3 separate regions of the Homo sapiens genome follow, and all the other regions are linked to region 3. Evidence: promoter capture Hi-C in 16 types of primary human blood cells and fetal thymus (Javierre and others, 2016). All regions are on one chromosome and are shown on one strand. The core of a region is centred on a gene start or on the middle of the fragment in contact, and the rest is flanking DNA. Distances in the headings are between cores, read along the strand shown. Region 1 has its middle 6.8 kb from the start of INTU. Region 2 overlaps ABHD18 (abhydrolase domain containing 18). Region 3 holds the start of HSPA4L (heat shock protein family A (Hsp70) member 4 like).

Region 1 (4,292 bases), core at 1,055-3,554, 160 kb before region 3:
TGCTAGTGCATTAATTTTCACTGCTGGTACTTTCGTCCAACCTTATCCTTTATGCAAAATAGACTAACAAATATTAAATCCTGTGGTTACAGTGATGGGTTTATAGAAGAGAAAGAAATAGTCCACATGAAGAGCAAATTGTCTTTCAATTTTAAGAGAGGATGGATGAAATACCAAGCAGTTAATGCTGCTTTAGTTCTAGGAAGGCCTGGCCTTCATAAGACGTTGTAGGGAAAAAGAACTCTTAGAAATATATCTAAAGTGTCTCTTGAATACGTTTGTGGCGAGAAAGAGTAAGTGGCGCTTCGTAAATATCTGTCAGGGGGAGGTTTATGTGAGCCCTCTCATCTGTAAACGTTTCAAGTGGCCCTTTTAAGTCTTTGTACAAAACCATATGAGCTGTAGAAATCCTGTTCTATTGGAAGTGTGAGTAAAAAAGAAAGTGTGCAAGGGAGAAATTGGGTGTCTGCGATTTCAGAGCTGTCTTCTGAAACCTGCAATTTTCTGCAGTTGGTTTCCCCCAACCCCCAAAGAGCCCCTGCCATATAAAAGAAAATATTATTAAACGAGCTGTGAAAAGGATATTCTGCTAAATTCCCAAAGAAAATTCCCCCTGCATTTGATAAAATTATAGTCCAGGAATAAATCCCAAGAAGCATTAACTAAAAACTCATTCACAGCATGACTTTGTTGTAAAGCCGGGAGGGGTGCTAATTTTAAAAGCTTAAGACCTTGCTGCAACAGAATTTCTTTATATTTCTCATGTTTTAAATGTCAAGTGCCAAAAAATTTCAAACTGATGAACACTTTAGGGTTTCAGATCCAAGGCACAAACCTGTCCGAATAAACCAGGCAAAAGAATATGTTTAAGCTATAGTCATCAAGACTGAGATGATTATTTCGGAAGTAGTGGAATATTTTTAGAATAACCTGCTCAGTATTACAATGAAAAACTACTTTATCTGAATTACAAATAACTGCTCCCATATGCTGGAGGAACCAATGGAATCTGGAACTATAAATATGTTTGTCAGTATCATGGCTAACAGTGCTTTCTTTTTAACATTATACGAAAATCTTTTTGCTACTGCAATGCATTACTCTTATTAGTGGTTATTTATTATTTAATGTTTTCAAACACGCACTTAAAAAACTTAGACATCTGTAGAGGTTTCTCTTTCATTTAATGCATCTGTGTTTCACACAAGTTCACATCTAATCAAATGTCTTTTGCTTGTATATATACAGATTTGTTTAGGCATAATATTATAGAAATTAGGGAGATTTGATAACCCTTAAATCATACTTGTACTTATCATAGTTCTCATGAAGTATATCAATGCATGGCCTATTTTAAAAGTATTACTGTTACAAAACTTTTATGTTTTTCCTTTAAAACATCCATCGTAAATTATATACAAAATTTTGGCAATTGCATTAAAGAGACTAGTAGCCATGTTATTAAGAGAAAATAACAGACTGTTTTATTTTAACGTGTTACTTTAAAGGGTAAGTCTTGTGAGTGTGTCCTTTTTTAAATTACTTGTATATTTTCCATTGCAAATATGGTTTTTAAAATGTAAAGCATTAAATTGCTGTGCTTTTGAAAAAGATACTTCAGCCAAACCAAAATTAAAGCAAAGCTGCAAACTTTTCTCTGCATGAGGTGCTAACTTCAAAATGTCAATTGTAAAATAACAATAGCTCAGCAAAATAAATTTAACTATTCTGCTTTTTGAAAAAAGTTACACATAAGTTGTCTGAGTCAAGGAAAAGCATCAGTATTGTATTTCTCAGTTACTTAAGTTATTTTTCTGTCATCTTGATTATAAGAAATAACCAAACAATACTATTAATACTCAGTATTTTGCAAATTTTTTTAAAAAAACATATGCACAATACTATTGCAAATTAATCATTTCCTTGGAGTCCTAATTCCTCTGTTGCACAGTAGTTGTGTGACTTGGCAAGACTTTTAACTTATTTATATTTTCCCCTGTTCTTTCTGTAATATAAAGGGATAATACCCACCTCACAAGGTGTTGGTGTGAATTTCTGATGATATGGAAGTGCTTTATAAAACTAAAGTTCTGTCAAATATAAGGGATTATGGTAACAACTGTTCTATAGTAAAAAACTAAAACAAAACACAAAATGATAGTTCCTAAAGATTCTGAGAAGATTCAGCCTGGTGACTTTGCCCAAGGCCTAATAGCTAATGAATGGTGCTGGTCCAGGCTGGAGTGCTGGTTTTTTGACCCCTAAGCCAATGGAGAGAGTGAACTAGAGGTGATTCTCAAAATTTTTGACGACCCAAATTTCATACTCTTACCAAAGGTGAAAATATGCAAATTCAAAATACCGCAACTATCCAGAATTCTCAGGGGGTATGCCCAATTAAGTAATATTCCTGTTAGTAAAAGAGTATGTAATATCTTTTTAAGATCTAAAAATAAAAACTAAAATGAATAATTAAAAAAAACAGCTTTTGAAAATATAATATAAAGTACACACTGCTCTGTTTCTTAAGGTATAAGGCATTAGATTTCAAGGGTTATCTCATTTGATTTTCAGCAACCCTATAGAGTAGGCAGAGATTATTATTGCTGCCTTCAGATGAGGAAACTGACTTTGTCCACTTCCACTTGGTTATTGGTGCCAAAATCAGGATGAGAACTTGGATCCCCTGACTGGAGAATGCATGGCACTTACAGATTATCAAGTGTTTTTTACAGTCGATGTCAAATTATTGTAGGATTCAACAATGCTGTGAATTTTTTTGTTTTAGGTGCTACTTAGGTCATTTGGCAGTTATTTATAAACTATGGTTTTTTGTTAATTCTCATGTCTGCCTTTTGTTTTCTACTTTCCTCTTCATCAGCAGATTGTCAGCCATCAACAATTTCCAGGGTTGTTGTATTCCTGTTTTAAGGGAGCCTTCTTTCCTTCTGATTGGCAGCTATTGATCTATAGTGGTAGAACAGCTTGCCAAACTTGTTATAATTTGTAAATGAAGATCTAAAATGAAAAGAAATAGGAGTAAATGAATTGGGTTTTGGGCTTGAGCTTTGTGCCATCTATTTTAGTCTCACTTGTGCTTCTGGATTCTCATCTGTATTCCATTACTATTCAAATGTGGAATATATGGTCTTATTGCAGGTAAGTTGTATGCATTTTAACAAGTAATTCAACTTTTATAGAGGGAAATGAGAATTTTAGACCATAATGCAATTCTGTACCTTTAGGATTGCTGAAATGTTATTTTGATATATAAACTCTGAAATCTGAAATCTTCTACATAATAAAGTCTCACTTTCTAAAATGCTATTTTGTTGGTCTACCAAGTTATTTATTCATATTTTAAAAATAATTATGGCTGTCATTATTACCACATAGTTCATAAAGTATTATTATTTCTGTGTTCACAATTAAGGCAATATTAGTTTCTAACAAAACTCTTACATAATTTTTACCTTGTAGTTTAAATTTTTAATGAATATGACCTCATGTGGCCCTATTTTCATTTACTTCTCATTGCCAGCTTCTATTACTACTAGAGAAAGAGCTCCTGAACCTGCTAACGATACTAAATATTTAATTATGTCCTTTTCTGGTGTATTTTATGTCAGAATTGTAGTTCGCCTAATCAAGATGGTAATCTATGGAAATAAGGATGTCAAGTCTCATATGCATTAAATTAAACATATTTGGGCTTCAGAAGATGGCTGGTCATTTTGTAGTGGAAAAGAGAAAATGAAAATATACCCCAGTCTAAATCTCTTAAATCTTCTTGCAATTGCTAATTATGAAACACACAGAATATTCTTATAAAGGCCCTGAAAATGGCATCCTATTCCTTTCCTTTCTTCATCCTTTCAAAAATATCTAAGCTTATTAAATATTAGCAAGGTTAGTAGAAATATGATATGTAAATTTAGAAATATGACTAATTGATACTACAACCTGAAAATTAAAATAAGGATAAAAATGATTGCTATTATTTCTTCTTTGATGAAAGATAAAGCGAGGTGGTAAATTTTGTTGTTGCTCACTTTTATCCATTTAACTAACACATGGAAGTAAATTAGCCAAGGGAGTTAACGTAACTCAGGAATATAGCTAACGTCCTAGCAGGTATACTTTCATGTGGCATTTTTTGCTCCAGTTCAACCTTGTGACAAGTGAAAGACTGAAGAGAAAAAAAAAAAAAAGACCCAGTCAGGTTCTCCAGGAGATTGTCATTTGGTGGCAATGATAGATGTATTCCTATTTAATTTAGATATAAGACAGAC
Region 2 (4,141 bases), core at 1,205-3,704, 190 kb after region 3:
GTTGCTTGTTTAGCATAACAGACACTCATCACTTAAGAAATACCAGGGGTTTTAGAAACTTCATGCCAGGAGCTGAGGTCAAAGACCAGATATACTCTTTTTTTTTTTTTTTTTTTTTTTTTTGAGACAGAGTCTCGCTCTGGCTAATTTTTGTGTATTTTTAGTAGAGACAGGGTTTCACCATGTTGGCCGGGCTGGTTTTGAACTCCTGACTTCAAGTGATCCACCTGCCTTGGCTTCTCAAAGTGCTGGGATTACAGGCGTGAGCCACCGTGCCTGGCCCAGATATACTCTTTATTATTCCAGAGTGACATGCCCTCTACAAGAAAAACACTAGTCAAGCAATTTATATACTACATATACTTACATGATTGTAATTGCACTAAAGTAGAAAATATATAATTAAGACGCATTTCAGAAGTTAGTTTGCCTTTTACCATTTGTTTCATGATTAAAAAAATTCTAAGAGGCAAGTGTTTTTACTTTGTTTTGGTTTTTTTGTTGTTGTTTCTGACAAAGGTGTTAAGTGAATGAAAATATATAAACATGATTTAGACAATCTTTTCTCTCCCCTACCCTCCCCACTCGTTTCCTTTCTTTTCTTTTCTTAGACCGGGTCTCACTCTGTCACCCAGGCTGGAGTGCGGTGGTGTGATCCTGGCTCACTGCATCCTCTGCCTCCTAGGCTCAAGCAATCCTCCCGCCTCAGCCTCCCGAGTAGGTGGGACTACACAGGCACACACCACCACTCCCGGGAAAGTTTTGTATTTTTCATAGAGGCAGAGTTTCCCCATGTTACCCAGGCTGGTTTTGAACTGCTGGACTCAAGCGGTCCTCTCACCTCAGCATCACAAACTACTGGGATTACAGATGTAAGCCACCACGCCTTGCTGATTTAGACAAACTTTCAAAATTTGCTTATAAACAAATGTTTATTCAAGTCTGTGGAGTTTGGGGGTTTTTTTTTCCCCCTTACTGGTAGGAAAATGTGAAGAAAGTAAGTAACACCTGTTATTGAGGGTGTCAGCCCAGATACTCTACTCAAATGCTGAGAAGTATAATTGGTTTCTCTCAGTGTAGCAGACAGTTTCTAAGGTGGCCCTCAAGATCCTCAAATTCTGATGTTCATATTTTTGTGTGATCCCCTTCCTTGAGTTTGGGCAGAACCCATGATTTGCTTTCTAACCAGGCATATGGCAAAGGTGATTGGCTGTTATTCCCATGACGACATTATGTTATATGGCAAAGGTATGGCTCCTGTGGCTCACACTTATTTTCCTGCTGGCCTTGAAGAAATAGCTGCCATGTTGTGAACTTCCTATGAAGAGAGCCATGTGACAGGGGGCTGTGGATAGCCTCCAGGAGCAGAGGCTGGCCTCTGGCTGATGAACAGCAAAAAAAAAAAAAAAAAAAAAAAAAAAATTGAAGCTCATAGTCCCACAGCCACACACAAAAAAAATGAATTCTGCCTTCAACCTGAGTAAGCGTGGAAGTGAGTTCTTGTCTCTTCAAGCCTACAGATGAAAATGAAGCCCAGCTGACACCTTGATTGAAGCCAGATGAGGTTCTGAAGCAGAAAACCCAACTAGGCTGGGTTCTTGGAAGATAATCCTCAAGGAAAAGGGAAGAAGATGGAGGAAACAAACTAGATGCAAGAGATTTGTTCTTCAAATTATATTCTTTAAAGGTCTTAGTTATTAAAAGCTTCCAACTATTTAAATTATGCAATGGTCTTTTTTGAAGAGAATATTAACCTTAAGTTCTGTTTTTTTTTTTTTTTTTTTTTTTTTTTGAGACAGAGTCTTACTCTGTCGCCCACGCTGGAGAGCAATAGCACTATCATAGCTCACTGCCACCTCACTCTCCTGGGCTCAAGCTATCCTCCTACCTCAGCCTTTTGAGTAGCTGGGACTACAGGCGCACACCACTATGGACCACTGCACCCAACTGTATTATTTTTGTGTGTGATAAGGTCTCACTGTGTCACCCTGGCCTGGAGTGCAGTAGCCATGATCTTGGCTCACTGTAGCCTCTGCCTACTCAGTTCAAGCAATCCTCCCACCTCAGCCTCCTAAGTAGCTGGAACCACAGCCATGCACCACCACATCTGGCTAATTTTTTGTATTTATTGTAGAAATGGAATTTCACCATGTTGCCCAGGCTGGTCTTGAACTCCTGGGCTCAAGCTATCCACCCGTGTCAGCCTCCCAAAGTGCAGGATTACAGGTGTGAGCCATGGCATCTGGCAAGTTCTGTTCTGAGATAAATAGTGAACTACTTCTGGCTGGGCGCAGTGGCTCACACTTGTAATCCCAGCACTTTGGGAGGCTGAGGAGGGTAGAGGGTGGATCACCTGAGGTCAGGAGTTCGAGACCAGCCTGGCCAACACGGTGAAACCCCGTCTCTACTAAAAATAACAAAAATCAGCTGGGTGTGGTGGTTGTCGCCTGTAATCCCAGCTACTTGGGAGGCTGAGCCAGGAGAATTGCTTGAACCCAGGAGGTGGAGGTTGCAGTGAGCCGAGATCGCGCCATTGCACTCCAGCCTAGGCAACAAGAGCAAAAACTGTGTCTCAAAAAAAAAAAAAAAAAAAAAATAGTGAACTACTGCTTACTGACAAAGTTGTCAAAAGGAAAAGAAAGCATCAATTTACTTCCCCTCAAAATTTTATTTGGAGACTCAACCCCAAATTCTATTTTGTTTTCTCAGTTTTTTTTCTTGTGGTAAAATACAGTAACAAAATTTACCATCTTAATAATTTTAACTCTATAGTTCAAAGGTAAGTATATTTATATTGTTGCGCAACTGTATCACCACCATCCATCTCCAGTTTTCTTCTTGCAAAACTGAAACTCTATACCCATTAAACAGTAGCCTCCCCCTTTTCCCATCCCCCCAGTACTGGGCAACCATCCTTCTACTTTCTGCTTCTATGAATCTGACTACTCTAGGTATCTTGTTTAAATTGAATCATACAATATTTGTCTTTTTGTGGCTGACTAATTTCACTTAGCGTAATGTCCTCTGAGTTCATCCATGTTGTATCATGTGCCAGAAGTTCCTTCCTTTGTATGACTGAATATATTCCTATTGTGTGTGTGTTTGTGGTTGTTTGTATGTACATACTTTGCTTATCCATTCATCTGCCAATGGACACTAAAAGCTCCCACCTTTTATGTATTTATTTATAACCTAGGAAGTGAAGAAGCTTCTGCCAAATTCTAAATTTTATGGAGGAAAACAAATCATGGCTGATTAGATAACTAGTGTTTACTTTAGATAGAATATTAATTTTAGGTCTACTTTATGGCATATAGAATTTTTTTAAATCAATATTTGCATTATATTTATGCCCATTTTATAGGGTTGGGATAATTTACTTATTTATTTTACTTTATTTTATTTTATTTATTTTATTTTGAGATGGAATCTTGCTCTGTCACCCAGGCTAGAGTGCAGTGGTACAGTCTCGGCTCACTGCAACCTCCGCCTCCCAGGTTCAAGTGATTTTCCTTTCTCAGCTTCCTGAGTATCTGGGATTACAGACATGTGCTGCCACACCCAGCTAATTTTTGTATTTTTAGTAGAGATGGGGTTTTGCCATGTTAGCCAGGCTGGTCTTGAACTCAAGTGATCCGCCTGCCTCAGCCTCCTAAAGTGTTGGGATTACAGGCATGAACCACCACGTCTGGCCTGTAATTTTAATCTAGTGATTTATAGTTGTATCTTTACATTTATAACATTAGTGTTATATTTGTGTCATACCTATGATTTATTTGATTTTCTAACCCAGGGGTCAGGAAGCTATGGCCTATTGTTCAACCTGCCTGTTTTTCTATGTCTTTCAAGTTAAGAATAGATTTTACAGGTGAACATTTGTACCCAATTTCATTATGGGGTACTAACTTTGAATCTCAATTAAGCAAACGCCCAAGAAAAAAAAAGTTTATTCTTCTCATTAATTATACATTACAAAAAATTATACTCAGTTATTTTTATGACATTTTGAATTTCCTCAATGCAAAAAATGTGACTCTGAAATGAAAAAAATGAAAAAAATGTTATCTGAAATACCTACATAATATCCTTAATTTTGCCTCTTGTCCTACAAGGCCTATCATATATACTGTTCAGCCTTTTG
Region 3 (4,543 bases), core at 716-3,215:
TGCCAAACGTTATACAGGTAGTAAGTTAGGCAAGCCTGGTACTACAACCCAAATCTGTGTGACCCCAAAGCCCGTCATGGTTTTAACCACTGGGTACTCTCACGTCCTGCCAGTAATTGTAAGGAACGTGATGATAACACCACTTTGCTCCTGGCCTCAACTTCCTTTTTACTTTGATATTTTAAGTGGTATTTTTAATAGGAAAAAAAAAAAACATTCTTACACCCTCAAGTTGTATAGACAACATGGATAAACTAATGGAATTAAGATAAATTAATTGTACTAGGAGAATTTCAGGATATTCTGGAATAAATCTAGATAGTGATGGCCGATGTCAGAAGAGGTGTGTGAGGAGAACTGGTGGAAGTCACAGGCGCCCAGCAGGACCAGGGCCCAGGGTTCAGTCGCAGGGCAACGCCCAATCCCTGTTCTGCTCACGAGCTGCCCGCTGGGACGCCGAGTTCTGCGGTGTCTCAGAGCGCAGCTTCACCCAGGGGCTCCACGTCTCCTGAGTGCTCATGAAGGGAAGAGAGGCCTGATTGATTTCTTCAATGTAGAGACCAGAGCCCAAGCAATACTGTACAATCCAGTTGCCTCAGTATTGCCCTTGAAAATGGATTTCACGTTCATTCTAACAGCAGCAGGAACTATAGCCACCCTTGCTGCTGCTGCTGCTGTAGCAACATTATTAATAGTAAAAAATCTAAGTTATTTAAAGAAGTGGACAACTAGGGATAATCAGAATACTAAAGAATCTAGTAAACAAAACAAACAAACAAAAAAACACGCCTGTTTTCAAGATGGATACCAAAATGGAACAGGAAAACACACAAAGAATTGGATGAGAAGGAACAGAGACTAGATGAAGAGGACGGGGAGGAACAGGGAACAGACCAAGGACTGGCAGAGAAGGAACAGGGCACACACGTAAAAGTGAACGAAAAGCAACAAGACAGCCAAATTTCTTAAGTGTAACATAAAACTTGGTTAATTACAGACAGGCAACACATGCCGATCAAACCAAGAGGGAGGGCGCTGGACCACACTGGGCTCTTTTTTGAGGACCACAGGGCAGCGGCTGGAGGCTAAAGCACAGACTTGGCTGGTGTGAGTGGCACACTTAATTAAGGTCACTTTCCTGTAAAACTGGTTTCCAGAGACAAGGGTCAGCGGCGGGGCCAGCATCTTTTAGAAAGGTGTGAGGAAAGGTACGTGGAGGGAAAGTTGTCAGTGTGATCTTATTTCTTGACAGAAGTTTGACTTTTGATATTTCAAATCCTGCTGATGAAAAAAGAAAAAAACCTAACATGTGCTCATCCCGCTTTCGCACAAGAGTCTGTCCCGGGCTCGGCAGCTCCCCCGGGGCTGGACAGGGCGGAGCGGCGGACGTCGGACAATGCGCGCCACCTCACAGAGCCGGGCGCGGCGGGCCTCCAGCCACAAGGGGAGGGCGCCGGGCTGCACATGGGCCCCTCGGGGAGGCGAGGCCTGCGGGCGAGCCCTTCTGAGGGCAGGGGGTGAGGGGGCGGCGCCCGCCAGCCAGGACAGCATCCTGCCGCCGTGACAAGCACGCCTCCGGTTGCCAAAACAACCCAAAAATGTGCCTCAAAACACGTTCGCAAAGCCCCGGGCCGGCCGGTCGCCTGCCTCTCACCTAGCCCGACCGCCCGACGTCCTACTGCCGAGCGAGGGCGAGCAAGCCAATGTGCCTAGCCTCCTTTCCCCGATCCTCCCCGCCCCGCCTTCCCGCTTCTCCCGCCCCCGGATAGCTCAGCAGCCTCCATTTTCCAGATCTTTCTCGAACCCGCAGCTTCTTGGGCAGCCGTTGCCCGAGTGCTGACGGAAGCGGCCGAAGTCCGGGCCCGGAGCTGGCTCGGGCGCGGAGCGGAGGCTCGCGCGCCTCCCGGGCAGCCGAGCGCGCAGGCGCAGGTCCCAGTAACCGCCGGTTGGAGGCGGCCGAACCGCAGTAGGGAAAGACCCAGGCTGCGGGACGCGGTGCAGGCTGCGGCGCTGACGGCCTCTGCTCCTTCCGCGGGTTTCCGACTCCCTGCCCTAGATTTTCTGCTTAGCGACTTGGGGTCCCCTCTCGTTTGCTTCTGGTAGGAGTCGCAATCCCAGCAGCAATAGCCCAGAAGAGGACACGGTTCCCGTACCGAAGGGTTCAGTACCAGCAGCCCGACCATCACGCGGCGGGATGTCTGTGGTTGGCATTGACCTCGGCTTTCTCAACTGCTACATTGCTGTCGCGAGAAGTGGCGGCATCGAGACCATCGCCAATGAGTACAGCGACAGGTGTACCCCGTAAGTGCCTCTGCTGAGCATCACCTCGACCCTAAGAAACGTTTTTCTCTCCCGTCCTTAACGTTTGTCCTGTCTGCTCGCTTCCTCGGATTTTCCCCTAACGTGCGCCGAACCCCGAGATGACAGGTGCAACCCGTCAACCGCAGTCCCTAGAGACCGCCGGGTGGCAGTCGGACTTCCTCGCCCCGCAAAGCTTCTTTTCCTTCAAGGACGAGGGACCGCACTAGTTTGCGCAGCTCTCTTTTCTGTACCTACGCACGTCCCCTGCCTCGTGCCGCTGTCCCCCAACGCCTCTTTTGCTTGCGAGGAAGAGGTTGCTGTGGGACAGCCCCTGGCGTCCGGAATATTGAGAAAGATCTCCGGTTGCCTCTAACGAGGTTTACGTGGGATTATCGGCCCCGCGCCAGCTGCCCTCCTTCCTTTCCCCGTCCCTCTGGGTGACAGCTTTTTCTCAGAAAAGTAAAAAGTCAGCTTCGGCTGCACACGTCAGAGATGAATTGCAGGTTCATCTGGCCCCGAAAGCCTTTTTTTTTTTTTTAAGGGCGGGGAGTGAGGCATGTGGGGTTTTACAAAACCCAGTGCCCTTGAGAACTGCAGGTAATGGAGCCGGTTTACAGGGCCAGGTCAATGGTGCATTGATAGGGAGAGCCTCGGGATGGGAGTCACTGGCCTTGTGCATTGGTAACTACGTCAGTTGCTGGAATGCGGCGGGGTTGGGTCGGACCAAAAGCGTGTTTCTGCAGAGTGAATTGCCGGAGTCGGGGGCAGCTGTCCCGTATAAACATGACTGTGGAGTGATTCTATTATGAACGCTTAATGAAAGGCTTAGGAGGAGCGGCGTTATGTCATGGAAACATGTTTCCACATGTTCCGTTGTTTCTCTGGCCTGGGAAGTTTGTTGGCAAGGAATATAATGAAGTAATTCTGAAATATGAAAAACTAGTTGCTGCTTATAGGCTGCTGTTACTGGTAATTTTATGAGGAAACCAACTGTATGAAACCTATATTACTTTTTATGGAAAGGTAATTTGGCATCTTAATTTGACCGTTCTGAATGGTCCAAAATATAATACCTTAACTATACTAAAACAAGGTCAGTGTCCAATGGTCTTTAAATGCCTCATTTACTATTCTATGGAAAGCTTTAAAATATGGCAAAAAGATGTTGAAGAGTAGCTCACTTGAAGCAGTCTGTGCTTTGATTTCTTTCCAAGAAGATTCTAGAAGGTTTTATACCTTTTTTCGTAGATGTACACGTTTCTTCTATTGAAATTTTAAACGTTTTGGACGTTTATATTTTCAATACATGGGCATAGATAAGGTAATCCTCAATAATGTTTGAACTCTTCTACTTTTTACATCTTTTTCTGGCTTTTATGCACAGTGAGAGGCCGAAACAGTAACTGTGAAGTCGATGAATTCGTCTCTACAAGGTTTTATATTAAGCCACAACAAATACTGGCTTTCGCCAGAAACAGACCGGAAATTCCACTCTCCACCTTCAGCAGAGTAGGGGTTAAAAATGGGAGCAATCTTTGGCTTCATTGACTCTCAACCTATAGAGAAAAAACTGAGAGGTAGGGTGGACATTCTTTTAGTCCTTAAAGCCATATCCTAAAAGATCAGAAACCAGAACAGTAAGAAAGATCGATCTGCATTTCCAGGCTGAGAAATCTCTTTAGCAGTGAGTGAACCTGTGATTCTTTAAAGATCCTGGCCGGCCAGACTTAGTTCTTTAAAAAGTGGGCTTCTAGAGTCTTCTAAAAGTCTCTTTGTTATTGTACTTAGGCATATTCGCTGGTTCTGTGTGGTTGAGAAGTAATGTGATATTTCTGATTTGTGTGCTAGAAAGCCAATAGTAATATCTAGATTTAATGAGCCTAATCTAAACTAGAAAGTTCTTAAAAAGTGAAAGGATATTCTCACTTAGCTTGCATCAGCAACTCTTCTCTCCATGGCTGGGCACTGTCACTTACCTCAGAAGTGTATCTTTTGTTGTTTCTGAACAAAAGTACTTCATGGTAGTGTAGTGCTCTTACACTATGTATTACTTTGTGGGTCCAATTGTTGAGGAAAAACATAGCCCTTCCGGGCCTCAGGACATTTATCCATCAATTCAACACCGATCATGCAAAAAGCATTGTAACTATTAGATAACCTTTAACTTCTCTAATACACCACAGTATTTAATAACACACATAAATAAAATGTTAGCTTTGCAAATAAAATGTTTTTCATATTC

Evidence for each region. The method cuts DNA at HindIII sites, captures the fragments that hold promoters and counts their contacts. A CHiCAGO score of 5 or more calls a contact.
Region 1: a fragment that was not itself captured here is called in contact with the fragment with the promoter of HSPA4L in region 3 in 1 of 17 cell types (erythroblasts); the score reaches 6.3 in erythroblasts.
Region 2: a fragment that was not itself captured here is called in contact with the fragment with the promoter of HSPA4L in region 3 in 1 of 17 cell types (erythroblasts); the score reaches 5.0 in erythroblasts.

The regions. Positions count from the first base shown.
Region 1 is chr4:127,624,005-127,628,296 of GRCh38, forward strand. No RefSeq gene overlaps it. Among named protein-coding and RNA genes, the nearest start is that of INTU, 6.8 kb to the right of the region's middle. The HindIII fragment of the contact is 3,167 bases long and covers 722-3,888 here.
Region 2 is chr4:127,972,424-127,976,564 of GRCh38, forward strand. All of the region lies in intron 1 of ABHD18 (abhydrolase domain containing 18), which reads left to right. Among named protein-coding and RNA genes, the nearest start is that of ABHD18, 9.1 kb to the left of the region's middle. The HindIII fragment of the contact is 1,504 bases long and covers 1,703-3,206 here.
Region 3 is chr4:127,780,357-127,784,899 of GRCh38, forward strand. It overlaps HSPA4L (heat shock protein family A (Hsp70) member 4 like), which reads left to right and starts at 1,966. Exons shown (of 19, transcript NM_014278.4): 1 at 1,966-2,301. The coding sequence starts at 2,195. RefSeq lists silencers at 1,327-1,496, 1,777-1,846 and enhancers at 1,987-2,136, 2,036-3,028, 2,637-2,716, 4,128-4,367. The HindIII fragment of the contact is 4,318 bases long and covers 1-2,492 here.